Linked DNA regions of Homo sapiens: region 1 is linked to region 2. Evidence: promoter capture Hi-C in 16 types of primary human blood cells and fetal thymus (Javierre and others, 2016). All regions are on one chromosome and are shown on one strand. Each heading gives the region's core, a stretch centred on a gene start or on the middle of the fragment in contact. The rest is flanking DNA. Distances are from core to core; before and after follow the strand shown.

Evidence for each region. The method cuts DNA at HindIII sites, captures the fragments that hold promoters and counts their contacts. A CHiCAGO score of 5 or more calls a contact.
Region 1: a contact is called between a fragment that was not itself captured here and the fragment with the promoter of ZNF32-AS2 in region 2, in 1 of 17 cell types (M1 macrophages). The highest score is 6.5, in M1 macrophages.

What each region holds. Positions count from the first base shown.
Region 1 is chr10:44,716,473-44,721,548 of GRCh38, forward strand. No RefSeq gene overlaps it. Among named protein-coding and RNA genes, the nearest start is that of TMEM72, 190 kb to the right of the region's middle. The HindIII fragment of the contact is 188 bases long and covers 1,422-1,609 here.
Region 2 is chr10:43,642,188-43,647,407 of GRCh38, forward strand. ZNF32-AS2 (ZNF32 antisense RNA 2) reads left to right here and starts at 3,755. Exons shown (of 3, transcript NR_047558.1): 1 at 3,755-4,110; 2 at 4,925-5,022. It overlaps ZNF32 (zinc finger protein 32), which reads right to left. Exons shown (of 3, transcript NM_006973.3): 2 at 3,877-4,015; 3 at 1,675-2,614. The coding sequence starts at 3,946. The coding sequence ends at 1,863. The region is part of intron 1 of ZNF32-AS3 (ZNF32 antisense RNA 3); the gene reads left to right. It overlaps ZNF32-AS1 (ZNF32 antisense RNA 1), which reads left to right and starts at 1,685. Exons shown (of 2, transcript NR_047557.1): 1 at 1,685-1,920; 2 at 2,663-2,860. RefSeq lists an enhancer at 3,449-4,648. The HindIII fragment of the contact is 3,514 bases long and covers 2,345-5,220 here.

The DNA.
Region 1 (5,076 bases), core at 266-2,765, 1.1 Mb after region 2:
CATTAGTGAGAATAACAGTAACAAAAACAATAGCTACTTTTAGGGTGTGTGTCTTATTCTAGATACTCTGCTAAGAGCTTTACACGACAGCAATGAATTCCCGCTGTGGGAGACCTCCACTATTGTAATGTCCTTTATTGCTGAACAAGTTCAGACTTGGAGTAGTTCTGTAACTTCCTCAAGTTTTGTAGTTAGTACCTGGCCAGACCAGCTCTGAATCCAGACCATCTGATTCACACCCCCCTACAAACAGGGACACAGGAAGGAAGGCACGGGGGTGATTCCATAGGTCTTCATGCTGCTACGCTGGATTTGGGGAAGCAGAATGCCAGGGGAACAAGAGTGTGGCTTAATGAGGTGCTGAAGAGATGAGGACCTGCTGGCCTGGAAATACTAAAACTGGAAAGAAAAATCTAAAATATTTACACCACTAAAAGAAGGAAAGCTAAGGAGAGCCTGGACACTCATTATGAATCCTTGCCTAGCAGAACTGGGGGTGGGGAAGGAAATTTGACAGCATTTGCAATCTAGAAGTAAAGATATATGACTTCATTTATGCCGTGTGAGCACTATAAAAACAGGAATCAGGCATTCAATCAACCTGAACCTCAGTTTCCATATCTGAAACATCTAATAAGACAGAATATGCAGGAATATTACTTATGTTTCTATTAAAAGTCTTAAACATAGCAAATAGTAAAATTATAGACATTATTTCTCCATTTTGTAGTATTGGCTAACATTATCAATATATTCAAAAGAAACCATATATAATTTACAAATAATTAAATCAGAAGGTTTATCAACAATACATAGGTTACTTAGATCCACTCCTAGCCTTTTGAGGAGGACATTACAGAAAATAGCCATTTATAAAATGAGATTTGAATTGAATGTAATGATTTTTATCCCTATATTATTTGAGAACTGAACCCTCATACACTCTCAACCTCAATCTCCAACACTGTGTGTGCATTTTTAATTAAATTAGTGCTATAGTTATTATATTTTACTTAAACAGTGTTTGTCAGATTCTTAGTTATTATATTATCTTTATGAGTTTTGCCTTATCTTCTCACCTGTGTATCACCAATTTAATATTTTTATGTAAATTGATTTGATAATCTCTGCCTGTTACTGAGTTTTCAGACCGGTTACATCTAATGGCATTACATTAAAATAATAATGGTAATAACAATTATTATTATAGACATTACTAGATTGAATCTGCTATTTTGTTTCTATTTGTTTTCTTCTTTGTTCTTTTTTTTCTTTTTTTTTTTTTTTTTGCTTTCTTCTGGATTAATTGAATAGTTTTCAAGATTCAGTTGTATTTCTATCATTGCCTAATTAACTATACCATCTTTTAATTTTCTTAATAGCTGCTCTAGGTTTTGCAATATACATCTTTAACTTACTGAAGCTTTCCTTCAAATAATATCATACATATTTTTTCACATATAATGTAACAATCTTATAACGGTATACTTCCACTTCTCCTATCCTTTGTGCTATTGCTTTTATATCATTCACTTTCACATATATTATAAACCCCACCATACATTCTCATCTTCTTATTTTTTGCTTTAAACAGTAAATTTTCAAAAGAAGCTTTAACAATAAGAATAAAGTCTTTTATATTTACCTACATAGTTATTATTCCTAATGCTCTTTATTTCTTTGTATAGATCCAAGTTTTTATCTGATATCATTTTCCTTTGCCTAATTAACTTTCTTTAACATTTCTTGAAGTGCAGGTCTATTGGCAATAATTCCTCCCAGCAATTTTTTATCTGGAAATGTTTATATTTCACATTTACACTTGAAATATATATATACTGGGTATAGTATTCTAGATTAACAGTTCTATTTTACTTTCAGTACACTAAAAATGTTGCTTCATTGTATTTTGGCTTATATAACTTCTGACTAGAAATATGCTATTTGTATGTTGGTCTTGTGCATATAATGTCTTTTTTCTTGCTAGCTGCTCTTAGGAATTTCTCTTTATACTTAGTTATGTGCAATTTGATTATGATGTGCTTTGGTGTTATTTTCTTTATGTATGTCCTGTTTAGGGTTCATAGATTTTATTAGATCTCTGATAAATGGTTTTCATAATTTTGCAAATTTATGAAATGGTTTTCATAAATTTGCAAAATTTATATTTTATTTATATTTTTATATTTATATTTTCAAATATCTTTCTGTTCCTCCCTCTACCTCTTCCCCTTTTATGATTCCTACTATACGTTAGACTGCTTGATACCACAGCTCATGGAATCTCTTTTATTTATCAGTAATTTATCAGTATTTATAACCTCTGTATGATTCAGTATGTAGTTTTACGTTGTTTGTTTTCAAATCTACTGATATTATATTCTGCAATGTCTGTCACCATTTCTCATGAAAGATAGATAAGACAGATAGATACAGATAGATAGGTAGATAGATAGATAGGTAGGCAGATAGATAGATTTTTCTTCTAGTTATGGGCCACATTTTCTGTTTCTATATATATCTGGCAATTTTTTATTGAGTATCAGACATAGTAGGTTTTGTTTTTTAGTTCTCTGGATCTTGTTGTATTCCTCTAATGAGTGTTACTTTTTTCTGTAAGGCAGTAAACTACTTACAGTGTAGCTTAATCCTTTCGAGTCTTATTTTTAACCTTTTCTAGGGCAGGTCTTGGGCTACTTTATTCCCACTACTATGGGATGATGTTTCTGGGATCATCACTAAATGCCCCCTGTATCCAACCAGTCTCTTTCACACTGGATAGTGAAATATTGAATGATTTCAAACTGTGCAAAATTTAGGAATTGTTCATCTTACAGGTCCACTGTCTATGTTATTTTCCTAGCAGTGTTCTTTGTCTGGTCTTGTAAAGTTTTGCCATATGCATATTAAAATTGGTATTCAGGCTGGGCACACTGGCTTATGCCTGTAATCCCAGCACTTTGGTAGGCTGAGGCAGGAGGATTGCTTGAACCCAGGAGTTTGATACCAACCTGGGCAATATATGAAGATCCAATCTCTATAAAAATTTAGAAATTAGCCAAGGGTAGTTGCACATGCCTGTAGTCTGAGCTGCTTGGGAGGCTGAGGTGGACGGATCACTTGAGCCTGGGAGGCAGAGGTTACAGTGAGCTGAGATTGTGTCACTGCACTCCAGCCTGGGTGACAGTGACACCCTGTCTCAAAAAAAAAAAAAAAGATTAGTATTCAGCCAAAGACTCAATTCAGCTTTTTGGAGCTTTTCCACTGTGTAATTAAGTCCTTACTTTATGGTACTTTGTCCCACCAATTCTAACTGCCTCATCCTTCTTGAACTCTGATCTATGACATGTGAACTCAGAGAGATCCCAGGCTCTGTTTGAGTTTCTGCTCCCTGTGTCGTGGTCCAGAACTTACTCCCAGGTAGAATAGCAGGGTGACCATGGGATTACCTCCTTTGCTTCCATTTACTCACATGTCATAGTCTGGTCCTGTCTATTGCCCAGTGTTTGAAAGCAGATGTTTCATCTATTTTGCCCAGTTTTCTAGTTGTTATTGTTGTTGTTATTTTACTGTCATTACCTTCATAAGAGTCACTTCTTCATGGATGAATGCAAAAGTCGTTTTTATTTAAATTAAACTCCTTTTAAAAGTTATTCAAGTCAGTTAAATTATCATTTTAGGCACTAGTTACAATTTTATCACGCATATTAAAATAACTATACATTTTAAATAATGACATAATTATTAAAATAAAAGTATGGATTTGTATACCATTTTAAATCATCTTGAGGCTTTCTAGGGACACAAATATCATACTTTGGGAAACTTTGTATAAATATTTTGGGTGGATGTGTATGAAACAAGATCAGCATTTTATATAATAGCAGGATCTAAATCAAAGGATGAAATGACACCTGAAATCATTCATTTAGGAAAAAAATGTATTTCTTTTGTTGTTTAGAAACAGAGTGACTCTGTTGCCCAGGCTGGAGTGCAGTGGCATGATCATGGCTCACTGCAGCCTCGACCTCCTGGGCTCAAGGGATTCTCTTGCCTCAGCCACCCAAGTAGCTGGGACTATAGGCACACACCACCACACCTGGCTGATTATTTAATTTTTTGTAGAAACAGGCTCTTACTATGTTTCTCAAGCTGGTCTGAAACTGTTAGTCTGAAACTCCTGGCCTGGGATGATCCTCTTGCTTCAGCCTCTCAAAGTGCTAGCATTACAGGCATGAGACAGTGTGCCCAGCCAGGAAAGAAAAAAAAAAAAAAGTCTTAGGACAGATAATCAAGAGGTGAGAGATGGGATCTGTCTTCTATTATTTTCAAGGAAAAAGTTAAGATCCCTCTTCAGCTGCTCCCGAGTTTTATTATGTGAATTAGACCATGTATTAGGACATAAACCAAGACACAAGGCCTGTCACTGAGGGGAGAGAGCAGGCCTCTCTTGGGACAGCAGCGGTAGGGGCATGAACTGTATCTAGTAGAAACCAAATGTTTGGCTTTCCAGGAGAAATACCCGCATTTCTCCTGTGGTTTGTATTTATCCCCTGGGTTGTCTTTTAGTGTTTTGGAAAGACATTTTAATGAACCAGTCTTCCTCAGCTATTTTTAGAAAATCCCAGGTGTGGGCTTGCTTACAGGTAAAAAGGTAATATGGGCCAGCTGTAAGAATAAGTAAGGACTCCAATGATCCAATCAGGCCAAGAGATACAATTGGAAAAATGCAGTCACCTATCCCTCCCCACCTGGAGCTCTTCCAGGTTTAGCGAACCTCAAAGGTTCTGAGTTAAATTATTAAGCCCCCTAAATATTTCAAGCATGGGAGAAATAGAGCGATAAACTGGTCACACCATGAACTTTGGAGTCAGGAACACCCGGTTTTAGTGTTGTGTTATTTCCTAGTTTTCCACTCTGAACCTGTCTTTACATTCATAAATGGGAACAATAATGCATGGCTCACTGAGTTATTTAGAGTTTTAAAAAATAAAATAAAATAGTGTATGGATCATAGGAGATATCCAAATGTTAATTCTCTTCCTCAGAACTCCCTGCTTCCTCAGGGAACATCTT
Region 2 (5,220 bases), core at 2,505-5,004:
TCTAAGTGTGTGGCTATTATAAATGAAGATGACATGAACATTCTTGTATACAGCTTCAAATGTTATTGTGGTATCTTTGGAATATTTTTGTATTATTAGAATCCAGTGTTTCCAAATTGTTTCAGTGCTCAAAGACCTTTGAAATTTACCTCTCTACATGGTAAAGATTTACTATTACAAGCTTTTTGGGATTAAGGAAGCAATAATTTATAGCAGGGGGTTCCCAACCCTGGGCCATGGATCAGTACCAGTCTGTGGCCTGTTAGGAACTGGGGCACACAGCAGGAGGTGAGTGGTGGGAGAGCAAGCGAAGCTTCATCTGTATTTACAGCTGCTGCCTGCTGCTCACATTACTACCTGAGCTCTGCCTCCTGTCAGATAGTGGCAGCATTAGATTCTCATAAGAGTGTGAACCCCATTGTGAACTGTGCATGCAACGGATCTAGGTTGTGCACTCCTTATGAGAATTTAATGCCTTATGATCTGTCACTGTCTCCCATCACCCCTAGATGGGACTGTCTAGTAGCAGGAAAACAAGCTCAGGACTCCCACTGATTCTACCTTATGGTGAGTACCTTATAATTGTTTCATTATATACTTCAATGTAATAATAATAAAGTGCACAATAAATGTAATGTGCTTGGATCATCCCAAAATCATCCCCCTCTGTGGGAAAATTGTCTTTATGAAACTGGTCCCTGGTGCCAAAAAGGTTGGGGACCACTGATTTATAGGATCCACTAGAAAGGATGGAATGGTGTCTTACCAAGAAAACCAAAATCTCTATCATTCATCATTTCACTTACATAAATGCTCAGTATGAAAAATTATAGAGATGGCTAAGATTTTAAAAAATGGAAATGGAAATTTCCCCTCAAAACCAATTTCTCCTCTGCAGCCTTCTTCAAATCTCATCCCCTGGAGGTCAGAAAAAAGGATGGGTTAGAATTCCAAATTTCTTGGTGTGTGTGCAGGAGGAAGAGGATAGTATTGTTGGAAAGTGGAAGTTCATTATTGACTACAAACTACAAGTCTGGGTTCAGTAATAACACTTATATCCTTTCTAGATAACCCAACCCCAAGATATTGCTGCTGTTACCAAAGAGGGAGTGAAGGTCTCTGAAAATGTAGGAGTCCCTTTAGTAGATGGGGAGAAATGGGTTAAAGATTTTTAAAAATTGCACAGACAGTAGTTGTTTGCTCTTTGGTTACAGGTGAATTATCTCTATCCTAGTTAGGAGTGGAGGACTGAAGTATGTCTCAATGCACAAACTAAGGCTGTGCAGGCTTGGAAAGAAATTTTCTTTTGTAATAAAAGGCTAGGCCCCTTGCTATAGACATGAGTGATTAGTTACAATAGGTTATTGGGGGTATCATCCAGGTAATGAAATGTTCAACAAGAAGATTATAAAGGTAACTAGATTTGCCCCATGGATTTTGCCCAGTGGTTTTGAAGGCAAAACAAGATTAATTTGAATATGTAAGGAAGAAAAATAACTTGGGATTGATGAGGGGCTGATTTTTTACATTTATAAAAGCCTGATGGTGTCAACTACAAATTTAAAATCTGTATTGGGTATACACAGAACAATCTCTAGTGTGGCACCAGATTAATGGGGGTACCTTGAAAAATCAGGTCAGAATAAAGTGACAGAAATTATAAAACATACATGATAATGATAATAAACAAGACATTTATTTTTCATACTCTTTTGGGGGAAAGGAAAAAAATCAGTTTGCCCTACCCAATGATGGTCTTTCTGAAAGATTCTCCATTCATTCCATAGAACTGGATAGGTTGCTTCATCTCAGAGGATTTTGTACTCTTAATTCATAAAGAGAACTTCTCTTCAGGAAAGTGGTCAAAGGGTGAGCCTCTGTGAGCAGCTTCGCTGGTGCACAGCCAGACTCCCTCTCTGGGTGAAGCTTTTTCCACACTGGCCGCACAGATAGGGTGTCTCTCCTGTGTGGATTTTGCCATGCAGAATACAATTCCCCCTGGTGTGGAAACTCTTCCTGCACTGGGTACAGGCATAGGGCTTCAGGCCTGTGTGGACTCTGATGTGAACAATTAAGCTTCCTTTCTGACTGAAGGCTTTTCCACACTGATCACATCTATAGGGCTTCTCACCACTGTGAACTCTCCTGTGAACAGCAAGGTTACTCTGATTCCTGAAGCTTCTCTGACAAATAGCACACTCGTAGGGTTTCTGTCCAGTGTGGAGTCTCTCGTGGACAGCGAGACTACCTCGTTGACTGAAGCTTTTCCCACACTCCTTGCACTGATAAGGCTTCTCTCCCGTGTGTATCCGTTGATGTGTAACAAGATTGCCTTTGGCCCTGAAGCTTTTTCCACAGTGGGTGCACTCAAAAGGCTTTTGACCAGTGTGGATTCTCTCATGTAACGTTAGACTACCTTTTTGCCGGAAGGATTTTCCACACTCCTGGCACTCATAGACCCTTTGTCTCACTCCAGGTGAATCTTCCTGTAGTGTCTTCGAATCTGGGGATTTTTGTTCCAGCTTCTCTCTTCTGAAAGAATTTTGGATATCCCAGCTTGAGGATCCTGTAGCCTCAGAGTGGTCATATTTGTGGTGGGCTTCAGTCATCACATCTGATAAAATGAGAGGGAAGTCATATAAGAAGCACCAATAATGCTGAGTTAGAATAGGGAAAAAGAAACATAATACTTTGAGTGCTTATGATGTGCCAGGCCTTATTCTTTGCATAGACAATGCAATCCTGAAAACAATGCCATGAGAGTGATACAGATAATGGGAGCAAAGGGAGCCTGTCAAAGGTCACAGAGCTAGGTAAGTTAGAGCTGACTCAAATAGGCATTCTCCATAGCAGTGTACTGCCTCTAAATTTAATTTAGGCCAACAAATAACCTTGTAAGATAGACATGGTTTTCTCTATTTTACAGGTCAGAAAACAGGCTCAGAAAATTTAGAAAACTATACAGAATCACACAGAGCCCCATACCCAACTTTTATCTGACTCCAAAACAGGTGTGGATCCAGGCTATATAAGGCCTAAAACTTTCCCATTTTAGAGGCACCCTTTTAAGAAAATGTATAAAATTAAGCACAGGGTCTTGGAGAGACCAATCCAAGTGAGGGGTCCTAAAACTGAAGCTGCATTTGCTTCTTCAGAAATCCACCTCTGTCCAATCTGTTCTGACAATAGAATAAGCACCATGACCTCAGAAAATATGTAGCACAATCCTGGGTACTTTACATCTATCATTGCTAATCCCTGCAACCCTACAAGATAGAACTTATTGTCCTATTTTACAGACGAACCTGGAGCTTAAGGAAGTTAAATAACCTGTCTGATACTGCAGATCTAGCCATGGCAATTATAGAATCTGATCCAAGGAATTTTTCCCATTAAAATCCTTGCTATTTTCAGTCTACTAAGCTATGGCAAAACTGAAATCAATTTTGGTTTGGAAGTTATTCTCTATGCAGATATTGACTTTTTTTTTTCCGAATACTGCCCTGCATCTGAGCCTCCTGGTGCACTTTAAATATGGGTCCATTCATCACCATTAACAGTTTTCTTGGTGTCTGTCACTCCAGGGTAATCTTCTCCTTGTTCCCTTGCCTTATTCAGAGACAGTGCTGAGATTTAAGCTGCTCATTCATTCTCAGAGACTACTTCAACGCTACCTCCATATCAAGATGGTTCTCTTGCTCTGTTTCTACTATTACTTCTAACTCCAGCTCACAGGCTTTTCTTATAACCCTAGGAACAGCAAGCTCTACCAAAGCAAGGTCTCCTCTGCTTCCTCAGACTGCCGACCAGTGCTGAGAACAGGGACACTGAATATCTGTGAGCTGAGCGCATCCAGCCATCAACTGACTCACTCACTGAAGAACGCTACATTCTGGGCATATCTTCCATGACAGTCCAGCAGGGTAGCTGTTGGAAATCCAAACATGTCCACTCCTGCTTACGACCTCAGTCACCACCTCTTCATATGATTCTTCCATGGGCTGTTCCTGAGCACCTGAGGGAGAAAAACAAACAGAAACAAACAGGAAAGGGCAGAATAATTGATATGTGAGAAGGAAAAAGTCAACAGTTGTTGAGACATAAGTGAATGTAAGAAACCTAGATTGTTTGACATAATGTCAGTTACTAAAATATCACTGCAAAATGGGCCCAAAGGTACCAGGACCACACACAAATGAGTCTAGGAGGAAGCAGGATGTGGGAAAGCAGAGAACACATAAACATATATCTCTTCCTGCCAATCCCAAGTTAATAGTCACTCCTGTTTACACTTTGGTCTTGGCATGTAATTGGGATCTTCCATTTTGGTTCCCCACCTAACCACCTACTACTTTCTTCCCTCCAAGCCCCAGAGGAATTCAGAATCTAAGAAAACAACATTTCAGCCTTCATGATTGGTTGGAGCCAATCAGCTCTCCAGTTATCTGTAGTTACAAAGACTTAACAAGAGAGTCCATTTGTTACCACTGAACAATTCTTAGGAGGCTCCAGACCCAGACTCGCCTTTCTCTTGCTCTTGAAGATACAAGAATACCAGTTCTGACCAAGTGTAAACACTTGTCAATTCTTGGAAAAGAAAGACCTACTCTGGACTCCAAGCCCAAGGCACTCCAACTAGGTTAAGTAACTTGCCCAGAAACCCACAGAAAATAAGGAGTCAAAGTGGAGCAAAGGTTCAAATCCAAGACTTTCTGGATCCAAAATGTATGCTCTTACATTAGACAGTTGTCTAGTTCCTAATCACTAAAGAGCTGGTCAGAATGCTTATAAAATTGAACAGAAAGGAAGAGAGTTTGACCAGATTGAAGTGCTCTTTCAGATCCTAGGAATCCTCTTGTATGTGCTCTAAATTATTTTTTAATTTTTTTAAAATTCTGAGTCAAGATTTTGCTCTGTTGCCCAGGCTGGAGTACAGTGACTCAATTACAGCTTGCTGTGACTTTGAACTCCTGGACTCAACGGATCCTCCCACTTCAGCCTCCCAAATAACTAGGACTACAGGTAAGCACCACCAAGCCTGGCTAATTTTTAAAAATTATTTTAACTTTTTTTTGTAGAGATCGGGTCTCATTATCCTGCCCAGGCTGGTCTCCAACTCTTGGCCTGAAGTGACCCTCCTGCCTCGGCCTCCCAAGACATGTAGGCATGAGCTACTACACCTGGCCCACATGATCTATTTTTTAAAAAAAATATTTCTTC